Linked DNA regions of Homo sapiens: all the other regions are linked to region 2. The links are contacts of gene promoters, found by promoter capture Hi-C in blood cells and fetal thymus (Javierre and others, 2016). All regions are on one chromosome and are shown on one strand. The core of a region is centred on a gene start or on the middle of the fragment in contact, and the rest is flanking DNA. Distances in the headings are between cores, read along the strand shown. Region 1 overlaps GJA9 (gap junction protein alpha 9). Region 2 holds the start of GNL2 (G protein nucleolar 2). Region 3 overlaps RRAGC (Ras related GTP binding C).

What was found. Contacts are between HindIII fragments. The CHiCAGO score rates a contact against its expected background, and 5 or more counts as called.
Region 1: a fragment that was not itself captured here is called in contact with the fragment with the promoter of GNL2 in region 2 in 1 of 17 cell types (neutrophils); the score reaches 6.0 in neutrophils.
Region 3: a contact is called between a fragment that was not itself captured here and the fragment with the promoter of GNL2 in region 2, in 1 of 17 cell types (total B cells). The highest score is 9.5, in total B cells.

The regions. Positions count from the first base shown.
Region 1 is chr1:38,875,149-38,878,926 of GRCh38, forward strand. It overlaps GJA9 (gap junction protein alpha 9), which reads right to left. Exons shown (of 2, transcript NM_030772.5): 2 at 1-1,045. The coding sequence starts at 950. RRAGC-DT (RRAGC divergent transcript) reads left to right here. Exons shown (of 2, transcript NR_186075.1): 2 at 793-1,078. All of the region lies in intron 1 of GJA9-MYCBP (GJA9-MYCBP readthrough), which reads right to left. Among named protein-coding and RNA genes, the nearest start is that of MYCBP, 3.7 kb to the left of the region's middle. The HindIII fragment of the contact is 8,897 bases long and covers 1-3,778 here.
Region 2 is chr1:37,594,205-37,597,694 of GRCh38, forward strand. It overlaps GNL2 (G protein nucleolar 2), which reads right to left and starts at 1,733. Exons shown (of 16, transcript NM_013285.3): 1 at 1,555-1,733. The coding sequence starts at 1,618. RefSeq lists enhancers at 1,232-1,291, 1,462-1,651. The HindIII fragment of the contact is 6,511 bases long and covers 1-1,972 here.
Region 3 is chr1:38,854,442-38,858,412 of GRCh38, forward strand. It overlaps RRAGC (Ras related GTP binding C), which reads right to left. Exons shown (of 7, transcript NM_022157.4): 2 at 2,438-2,641; 3 at 1,267-1,466. Among named protein-coding and RNA genes, the nearest start is that of RRAGC, 3.3 kb to the right of the region's middle. The HindIII fragment of the contact is 1,043 bases long and covers 1,953-2,995 here.

The DNA.
Region 1 (3,778 bases), core at 457-2,956, 1.3 Mb after region 2:
TCATTTACACTATGATTGTCAGGATTTGGCTGGAATACAGAAGATGAATTTAAACTAGGGTACACTGCAGTGTGTGTTTGCTTTTCCACTAACAGATTATAATCAGGGGCAGAAGGGAGTCGCTTCAGTGAATTTGCAGATGTGCTCTGGTATTTGGCTACATTTTGTTTTGCCTTGTTTGCATGGAATTCATTATGTTCCTTCTTCAACTTGTATTTTCCCCAAAGCCCTCTTTTAATCTTTTTAAAACCTAGGTGGAAAATTTCAAGAATGTTTAAGAAAAGTGAAATAGTGGCTATAGATTGCATAAATAATAGGAATATTGTCTTTTCTGTTGGTCTTGAGACAAAACAGTCGATTATATTTGGACACGGGTGGCCATGGCACTTAAATAGCGGCTCTAAGTGAAATCCATATAAAAGGTACTGTCCAATCATGAATCCAACTTCAACCACAGAGCGAGTGAAAATGTGTATCACATAAGTGCAAAGCAAGGTTCCTCTGAGTGGAGCTTTATTTAGTTTCCTTTTCTCCAGCTGACAAAGCTCTTGCTCCAATCTCCTCCGATCCCTAGGCATTTCAAACTCTACCTCCTCCAGTTCTACTCTTAACTGAGCTTTCATCCTTTGCCTCTCTTCCTCAAGAACTCTCAGTCGGTACAATGCATGGCCCATGTAGACCAGGGATGGTGAAGACACAAATATCACCTGCAGAACCCAGTATCTAATGAGGGAGATAGGAAAGGCCTGGTCGTAGCATACATTTCTGCAGCCTGGTTGTTCTGTATTGCAGATGAAGCCAGACTGCTCATCATTCCAGACATCTTCAGCTGCTACACCCAGAACAAGCATTCGAAATATGAACAGGATGGTGAGCCAGATCTTTCCAATCATGGTGGAGTGGATGTGAACTTCCTCCAGAGTATCTCCAAGGAGATTCCAGTCCCCCATGTTTATTTAGTCAGCCATCTTAGCTCTGATCCACATCAAATAAGAGGCAGATAAATTCTTCCATTCTGAAGGGAGCACTATTTCTTAAAGCAAACCTATGGTGAAAATATAACAATATGTCACTTCTATATGCTGGTTGCTTTACTTTTTCCCTAGATAGCTGTGGGGTTTTTTCTTTGTTTGTTTGTTTGTTGAGACAGAGTCTCCCTCTGTTGCCCAGGCTGGAGTACAGTGTTGCAACCACAACTCCCTGCAGCCTCAACCTCCCAGACTCAAGCGATCATCTCCCCTCTCAGCCTCCTGAGTAGCTGGGACTGCAGGTGTGTGCAACTACACCCAGATAATTTTTTTTATTTTTTTGTAGAGACAGGGTCTCACTCTATTGCTGCAGCTAGTCTTAAACTCCTAGACTCAAGTGATCCTCTTGCCTTCACCTCCCAAAGTGTGGGAATTACAGGTGTGGGTCACCACACCTGGCCAAAGTGTGAATCTGTTACCAATAATATACTTAAATGTCAGGAATTTAAAATCACTTATATTTAGACATCACAATACAATGAAAAAAACATGATACCTGGAGGAGGAGTGTATATATTCTCTATTAAGAATATAGGCTGGGCGGGGTGGCTCACACCTGTAATCCCAACACTTTGGGAGGCCAAGGTGGGTGGATCATTTGAGGTCAGGAGTTCCAGACCAGCCTGGCCAACATGGTAAAACCCCGCCTCTACTAAAAATACAAAAATTAGCCAGGCGTGGTGGCAGGCGCTTGTAGTCCCAGCTACTCGGGAGGCTGAGGCAAGAGAATCGCTTGAACCTGGAAGGCAGAGGTTGCAGTGAGCTGAGATCAAACCCTTGACCTCAGATGATCTGGCCACCTCGGCCTCCCAAAGTGCTGGGATTACAGGCATGAGCCAATGCGCATGGCCTAAAATTATATTCTTTTTTTTTTTTTTTTTGAGACGGAGTCTCACTCTGTAGCCCAGGCTGGAGTGCAATGGCATGATCTCAGCTCACCGCAACCTCCACCTCCTGGGTTCAAGCGATTCTCCTGCCTCAGCCTCCTGAGTAGCTGTGATTACAGGCATGCACCACCATGCCCGGATAATTTTGTATTTTTAGTAGAGATGATGTTTCTCCATGTTGGCCAGGCTGGTCTCGAACTCCTGACCTCAGGTGATCTGCCCACCTCGGCCTCCCAAAGTGCTGGGATTACAGGCGTGAGCCACCATGCCCAGCCTATTGTTGTTTTTCAACAGAACTTTTGGAAAGGTTTCTAAAACTAGTAACCTGATCTTAACCTTATTTATTAAGATTATTTGATATAAAAGTTATAACAAAGTCAATTTCTTTTTCCCCAACATGCCATTACTGGCTTGAAAAGTCAGTGATTTTTTTTTCTTTCTTTCTTTCTTTTGGGACAGAGTCTTGCTCTGTCGCCAGGCTGGAGTGCAGTGGCGCAATCTCGGCGCATTGCAACCTCCGCCTCCTGGGTTCAAGCGATTCCCCTGCCTCATCCTCCTGAGTAGCTGGGATTACAGGCGCCTGCCAACACCCCCCGGGATAATTTTTTGTATTTTAGTAGACACGGGGTTTCACCATGTTGGCCAGGATGATCTCGATCTCCTGACCTCGTGATCCACCCGCCTCAGCCTCCCAAAGTGCCAGGATTACAGGCATGAGCCACCGTGCCCGGTCAAAAAGTCAGTGATTTTTAAATCTCATTTATACACATAGGAAAACGAATATGCTTCATTTGATAATTCAGTAAGATATGGCATTCAGTGAAACCAGAGGAAACAGATCTGGCTGTCATAGGAATTTAGATTAGTTTTTTTAATCCAAATTGAAATAAATTTGAAATAAATTCTGGTTTCTTCCTGGCAATTGGTGAACATTTTCAGAAATTCATCTCAGTAATATTTATGAATATGTATAAAGTACTTATTATACTTTACTATGAAAAAGTATACTTTTTTTCTTTTTTTTTGGTGGGGGGAGACAGAGTCTCACTCTGTTGCCCAGACTAGAGTGCAGTGGCAGGATCTCAGCCCACTGCAACCTCCACTTCCCAGGTTCAAGTGATTCTCGTGCCTGAGCCTGCCAAGTAGCTGAGACTACAGGCAAGTGCCACCACGCTTGGCTAATTTTTGTATTGTTAGTAGAGACGGGGTTTCACCATGTTGGCCAGGCTGGTCTTGAACTCCTGAACCTTGAGTGATCCACCCGCCTCGGCCTCCCATAGTAAGCCACCGCGCCCAGCCCAAATTTTGTAAATTCTTACGTTAAAATGAACTTCAAGCCCAGCACAGTGGCTCACACCTGTAATCCCAGCACTTTGGGAGGCCGATGCGGATCACCTGAGGTCAGGAGTTCGAGACCAGCCTGGCCAACATGGTGAAACACTGTCTCTACAAAAATACAAAAAATTAGCTGGGTGTGGTGGCAGGCATCTGTAACCCCAGCTACTCAGGAGGCTGAGGCAGGAGAATCACTTGAACCTGGGAGGCAGAGGTTGCGGTGAGCCAAGATCGCGCCATTGCACTCCAGCCTTGGCGACAAGAGCAGAAACTCTGTCTCAGAAAACAAAAAGAACTCCAAAAATTCTCAACTATTTTATGGTACCAGAATCTTTTTTTTTTTTTTTTTTTTGAGACGAAGTTTCCCTCTTGTTGCCCAGGCTGGAGTGCAATGGCACAATCTCGGCTCACCGCAACCTCCACCTCCCAGGTTCAAGTGATTCTCCTGCCCCAGGCTCCAGAGTAGCTGGTATTACAGACATGCGCCACCATGCCCAGCTAATTTTGTATTTTTAGTAGAGATGGGGT
Region 2 (3,490 bases), core at 483-2,982:
GGTCAGACACCTTGCCCAAGGTCAAACCGTTACTAAATGGCAGAGCCAGAATTTGTACATGAGCATTTGATCACCATCTATGGTCTTAACCACGAAGATACCTACCTCTGTGTCTCAGTTTAACAAATATTGAGTGCCTGCTCCATGCAAGGCACCATGGAGACTATAATTTTGATATATGTGTTCTTACTTTCTTAATGTTTGATTTTTGTTTAATCAACACAGCAATTCTTGCCTTACATCTCAAAGAGAAAGAGAAGGACAAACGAATAGGGTAATACTAGCCTAGCTTCTCATTTTGGGAGCCCTTTATTTACCTATTTATTCATTTATTCATTATTATTATCTTTTTTTTGAGACAGAGTCGTGCTCTGTCACCCAGGCTGGAGTGCAGTGTCGCGATCTCAGCTCACTACAACCTCCACCTCCCCGGTTCATGCAATTCTTCCACCTCAGCCTCCCGAGTAGCTGGGATTACGGGCATCCGCCATCATGCCCGGCTAATCTTTGTATTTTTGTAGAGAGGGGGTTTCATCATGTTGGTCAGGCTGGTCTTGAACTCCTGACCTCGGGTGATCCGACCGCCTCGGCCTCCCAAAGTGCTGGGATTACAGGCGTGAGCCACCACACCTGGCCAGGAGCCCCTTAAATCACCTGTCTGGTCCTGAAGTGATACAGTAGAAGACAGGCTGAAACCACAGCCCATTGGCTCTCCTAACAGTCTCTAACAGTAGAAACTGGCGGCTCTACTACTACTCACTAACTGTTGCAATTATGACAGGCCACTTCCTGTATTTTGATTCAGTCTCTTCACCTGTAAAATCATAATCTCTAAGGGCCTTTTGGGGTCTAACATTCTGAGATTCCAGTTTGTGCAAAGTGAATAATTTATTATCAATCCGGAATAAACATTCAACTTGCATTAAAATTGTCAAAAATTCTAAACCATATTTTAAAACAAAGTTTTATTAATTAAACCTGAATGGAAGGAACTCTCCCATAGGATGTCTTGTTAATCGTACAGGTGGAACCTCGCCAAAACTTACACACATCTCCTAAACAGCCTTACTGCAATGATCATACTGACTTCTTTGTAGGGTTCTCTAAGCACTTTACCAGATAGAATAATTCCAAGGGCCAAAACTATAAGCCCTTTCTCATTTTAAAGGTCAAAGCTAAGGTGGCAGGCAAGTATGATCACGTGTAAAAGGCCCGAAGGGTCAACCTACACCATTTTTAATCTGACTTTCTCTGCATCTCTCAACTGGAGAGGACCCAAGGCTGTCAGCCTGAGTGTTCACTTTCCTTGACTTCAGACCAGTTGACTACACTTTGGCCTGCCAGGCGTGCACTGAGCCCTCCTCAGTTCCCCCCTGAGAAGAAACCACCACAAATATTGCTTTCCTTTTTCCCTTTTCATCCCCAACAGCCACCCCGCTCGTAGTCATTCTAAGCAATGCCACTCGAGTAACCCTCCTTCCCCTCCAGTGCTCCTCGGAGCCCTTCCCTATACTTCCTCCAAGCTCCACCCTCGATCAGCCCTGCCGCCTGTACCTGGGTTTGTGCTGGCCTTGGACGGGTTGATGGTGCTCCGTCCTTTGTACTTGGGCTTCACCATCTTGGCGACGAGACCGGGACCGGAGTGCGAGGTCCGGCTTACGTGGTGAAACAAACTTTTATGTTCCCAAGCCCGGCCGAAGACACCCGCCTGAACCACGCCGGACCACGTGTGCACGACGTACGTCACTTCCGCTCGCGTCCCTCTCGGCCTCAGAGCGACTTCCTGTGAACGCGCGGCGCGCGCCGTCACCCTCCTGGCTCCGCCCCCGCTCCAGCCGCCTAGGCGTCGCCCTGCGTGGAGCCCCAGCCCGCTCCAGCCCTAGCAACCGCCAAGCTGCCCGTTCATAGCAACCGCCTAGTTAACCTGAACGCGCGGCCAGAGCTCCCAGTTGGGTCCACCTCCGAATAAAGAAGCTTCTTCCCAGGCCAGTGGCACAAGCTTAAGTTTGTCTTCTGAATTTGTCTTCTAAGTCCTTCCAAAAGTTGCCGACCACACAGCAGCCAAATATCCGTTAGGAGGTGTCATTCTCTTCCTTACAACTCCAGTGGCTTATCATCACTCTTAGAATGAGAGGTAGGGGAAGGGAGAAGGGAGAAACAGACAGAGACAGAGATTGATTCAAACTTTTTGCCATCCCTACAGGATTCTGTGATCTGGCCCCTGCCTGCCTATTTATCTAATCTCATGTGTACGTCCCTCCCTCTGGTTATTCTGACATTTACACTGGATATTCTCTCTGCCTGAATCACTCTTTCCCAGAATCTTTGCATAGCTGTCATTCAATCCTAAGCTCAAATATCACCTATTGGTAGGCCTGCAAGAATTAGCAAATAGAAATACAGGACACCAAATTAAATTAGAATTTCAGAGAAAAAAAATGAATACTTTTCTTTAGTACACCTCCAACAGTGCCTGGAAAATACTTAGACTAAAAAAGTATTCATCGTTTGCCTGAAATTCAAATGTAACTGTACGTTCTGTATTTTATCTGGTGACCCTTCCTGCTGTGAGAACTCATTCCTGTCTAATTTGTCTAAATCAGCCACCTTTCACCCTTTCACAGTTATTCTGTTACAGTATTCTGTTTTATTTATTTCATGGCATTTATCACTAGTTGAATTTTTTTTACAAGTTTATTGGCTGCTTCCCCCAAACTAGAATGTAAGATTCTTAAAAGCAGGGACCTTGTTAATTTGTTCACTGCTGTGTCTTTAAGACTTGAATAGCATCTGAAACAAAGGACTCAAAAAATATTCATTAAGTGAAAGAATGAGTAGATGGGAATGTCTCTTGCCTTGAGGATGAAGGAAGGCATTAAGACCCAGTGATTTCTGTTTCTACTAGCCAGAATAAAGTGTCTAGATGCCAGTGTTTGAACCAAGAAGCCCTCTCTCTTTTTACAATTTATTTTTTGTTTGTTTGTTTTTGTTTTTGTTTTTTGAGACGGAGTCTCGCTCTTGTTGCCCAGGCTGGAGTGCAGTGGCCCGGTCTCGGTTCACTGCAACCTCCACCTCCCGGGTTCAAGCAATTCTCCTGCCTCAGCCTCCCAAGTAGCTGAGATTACAGGCGCATGGTATCATGCCCAGCTAATTTTTGTATTTTTAGTAGAGACGGGCTTTCACCACATTGGCCAGGCTGGTCTCAAACTCCTGACCTCAGGTGATCCACCTGCCTCAGCCTCCCAAAGTGCTGGGATTACAAGTGTGAGCCACCTCGCCTGGTCCCTCTCTCTTTTTTGGTACCTCAAATTGTCAGAAAATGGCCATCTTTGTACCCTCTGGATAGGCCAAAGAAGAGATGGTTAGGCAAGAGGAAGGGTGGATTCATGCAGTGTAGCTCATTTCATAAAAACAAACAATTTGTTATAAAGTGAGGTATTCTAATTGAGCAGGGGATGATTGAGTCTTTATTTCTCTGAGTTTGAAACAA
Region 3 (3,971 bases), core at 1,224-3,723, 1.3 Mb after region 2:
ATGGCATGTACCACTAGGGTGGGATGCCCTGGAAAGGAACACAGACACGGAGTAAAGAGAATCAGAAGGATCCCCATGGAGCACTGGGGAACACAGGACAAGAACGGCTCAAAATCCAGGTAAAAAACTATTAGCAGTGGATTCCCAAAAAAATAAGACTGAATTTTTGTGGAGAGCCACTTACATTTTCTCCTACAAACATTGCTGAATTTTTATTTTTTTAACATGAATTATTTTCAAATTATTTAGAAATTTAATCCAGGCAAACTAGAGGTCAATGAGACTTTTCGACATGGTTTCCTAGAAGAATAACTGAAAGATCTTGGAGCCTGAGACCCAGAGAATTTTAGGGGGAGGGATAGCAGTTAGCTTGAGCCCATAAAGAAGTCACAACAATAGAACGGGGACAGAGAAATAACTTGCTGTCTCTCTCCCCTTCTCCCTCTTTAAGCTACTTCTATCGTCAAGAGAATATTTTCTTGGGTACTTTTTAATACTCATTTCTACCTATATCACCAAATAAAATAAGATGTACAAAAATATTCCTCATACACTTTTAGAATGCAAATACACAAATCAATCCTATCAAGTAGGTATTATTTAATAATAATTTCTTAACAGTAGTTACAAACCAATAGTCCTCTAAATTTAATAGCAGCCTTATGCACATTTATAAGATAAACCCACCTAAGCCAAACTTTATAGAGTTTCATAAAAGTATAAAGTGTTTTAAAAGCTAAGATATATTACAGTCAGTCCAGGGGGGAGGTGGAAGGGAGCCAGCAGGAAAAATAAAAATGAAAAATAAAAAGAGTCAGTCCAGATTTGAAAGTGCACTCTCTGTATAAGGCTGTTCCTACTGAGAAAGATACTGTCTAAGACTCAAGCTAAAGACTTCCACAACAAATGTGACAGATTCACTTCACTGATGCAAGGCGGGGAAAAGTAATGAAACCAAGAGGAAGGAGTCCCAAAGCAGATTTATGCCATGAAGAAACAGCCTGACTCCAGTCTCTTGAGATGAATTTGGAAAAGCACCAGTGGAAACACTTCACATGACTTCAATCTCCAGGAAAACGCAAAAAGTGGGTAATTTCTCAATATCAGGCTCCCCAGACAGCCTGGAATTCAACAACAAGATCAAAAACATAAAAGATGTGGCAAAGGGCACACAGGTAGCAGAAAGCTATGGTGTTTGTAATGACAGAGATGGGAATACATTTACACCTTGTTCAGGGCTTTCATATCAAACACACATGTTGTTACCTAAGATGGAGTTTTTCTAGCCCAGCATCTGCAAGGTCATCATTGGCCCTTTGATGAATGTCCCTCTGTGTTTCTATTTTGTGATCATCAGACAGACCATCAACTTTGTGAATAAAAACCTCAAAATTCATGTCTGGGTTAACTTTGTAGGCTTTAGAAACAGTAATGTGAAGTCTTGTTAAAGCCTCCATGTAGTCATCCTGTAAGTCAGAACAAAATATTTTTTAAAATAAATCTTACAAAAGCCAAGTAATGAGTTAAAGCCTCAAACCACCTCTTTCCCCAACCACAGAAAAATACTATCCTAATTATCATCAATATTCAAACATTCAAATATACTATACTACTAAATAACTCTTCAATTGTCTCAAGATAAAAAAATTCAATTACCAAGTTAATGCTTGTAATTTTTAATATTAATTTAAGAAAGAAAAAAATGATATGAACATTTTTTCCCAACATAATTTTTTTAAGTAATCCCAGCTCTGCCATTTATTCAGTGTGTCACTTTAAGCAAGCTGCTTAAACTCTGATCTCAGTTTTCTCATCTGTAAGATCAGAATTACAATACCTACCTAACAATATTGTGAAGCTTAAATTAATTAGGTCCTGTACGTGAAGGCACCCTCTGTAGAGCCTATCACTCAGAAAGCATTCTTAACTAATGCTTAAGCTTATAAAAAGTAAGCTTCTTAAAGGATAGGGACTTGCCCCATTCATCTCACTGACTGCCACATGCTAGGCCCTCCATAAATGTTTGTTGAGCTAAACTCAATTTTGACAATTAAGTAAACTATTCACTCTAATATCTACTGACTCAGTTCTCATATTCCTCTTTATGTTATGGGATGGGATATTTTCAGGGAATAACATCACTATTATTATAAAATTATTATAAAATATGGCAACCAATAAAAGTGGAAAGCCAATGTTAGCTGCTCATCAACTAGGACTCAAGGATGTAAACCATATCTCCTAATCATCTGATATTCTGTACCTGCACAATGCATGTCTGCTCCCAAAGCACTCTGCAACTGCATCTCTTACACTGTTAGGGAATCTACTGCCAAAGAGATAAGCTGCAACCACATGACAAAGAAGATAAACAACTTTCCTTTGTTTCTACATCTTTTTCCCACCAGGAAAGAGGAGTAAACACATTACTGACTACCTGTGCGTCAATGACGTATATCAATGCTCCTGTTCCCCTGAAGATCATCTCATAGTCAAAGGTTGGGTCAAAAAAGTCCATTTGCCCAGGAAAATCCCATATCTGGAAATTCACAAAGGAGCTATTGGAAATGTCATCCTTATAAATCTTGTTGGTACTTTCCAAAAAGAGGGTCTCGTTGGGTGACATCTTATGAAACACCACCTGTTAAAAGAAAACAGGCAATTTTATGACTATTAAACTTCAGAATTTAAATTTAAAATTCCACCCTGGTTTAACATTTAAACATTTGATCCCACAAAAAAAAATTTTTTTTGAAAAGTAGAAACTGAATGGTGAATCCATTGGTATTCACTATCCCTTTATTTTTGACAAAAGAAGACACCAAATTAATTTCCATTAAATCTATTTTGGAGCTAAATCTTTTCTCCTATGTTCTATGCACCATACTCAGTACTAATAGTAGCAATCTCTATCACCTCCATTAGTTTTTCTGGGGGAAAGCTAACATTAATTCTACCAAAATCTGCTTTAAGATTATAAAAGTCTTACAGCTAAAGCTTAAGAAGTCTGGTTTATTCAAAAATTACTTGAATGCCTACCTCAGGCTCTGAGGAGTAATTTAAAAAGTGAAACAGACTGGACTCTGCCCTCACTGACTTTGCAGTCTAAGAAGGGCAGTAACTATACCAAGTAGAAAGTGAAAACGTCCAGGGGGAGGCCACGGGGACTGACAGGGAAAAGATAGCTCTCATGAGAAAAGAAACGTAAAGGCAATTGTTAAGAGTCACAATAATCGGCCCGGGTGCGGTGGCTCACGCCTTCAATCCCAGCACTTTAGGCGGCCGAGGCGGGCGGATCACTTGAGGTCAGGAGTTCGAGACCAGCCTGACCAATATGGTGAAACCCCATCCCCACTAAAAATACCAAAATTAGTCGGGCGTGGTGGTGCACGCCTGTAGTCCCAGCTACTTGGGAAGCTGAGGCAGGAGAATCACTTGAACCCAGGAGGTGGAGGCTGCAGTGAGTGAAGATCACACCACTGCCCTCCAGCCTGGGCGATGAGCAAGACTCCATAACAAACAAACAAAAAAAAAAGGATCACAATAATCACAACCTACACAGTTCTAACATAAAACTACTTTGCCTCTTACTGTCTAGAAGAGAAAAGTGAACAATTACTCTCAAGGTTTTCTCAGTAACAAATGTGAATAACTGAAATTAGTTTACTAAAAACCTACAGTCAACGTACCCAAGTTTTGCTGTAGAGGTGAAAATCAAGGTAAATAAAACACAGTACTCCAGCAAACCTGGAAGAACGCTGCTTTTTAAAAAGATCCCATCTACAAAATATCACAGATTCAGAAAGAAAAAAAAATCACAGATTTATTTTGGATAGGCCTTTGCAACAGAGTGGAGAGGTGAAAAGACCAGGTGCCTGCTGATACTAGTTTTATTACCAGCTCACTCCGCGTATAATGGGTTTGGCTGATGGAGGAAGTCAACCTTGCCTCTATTTAACCCTCACTAAACA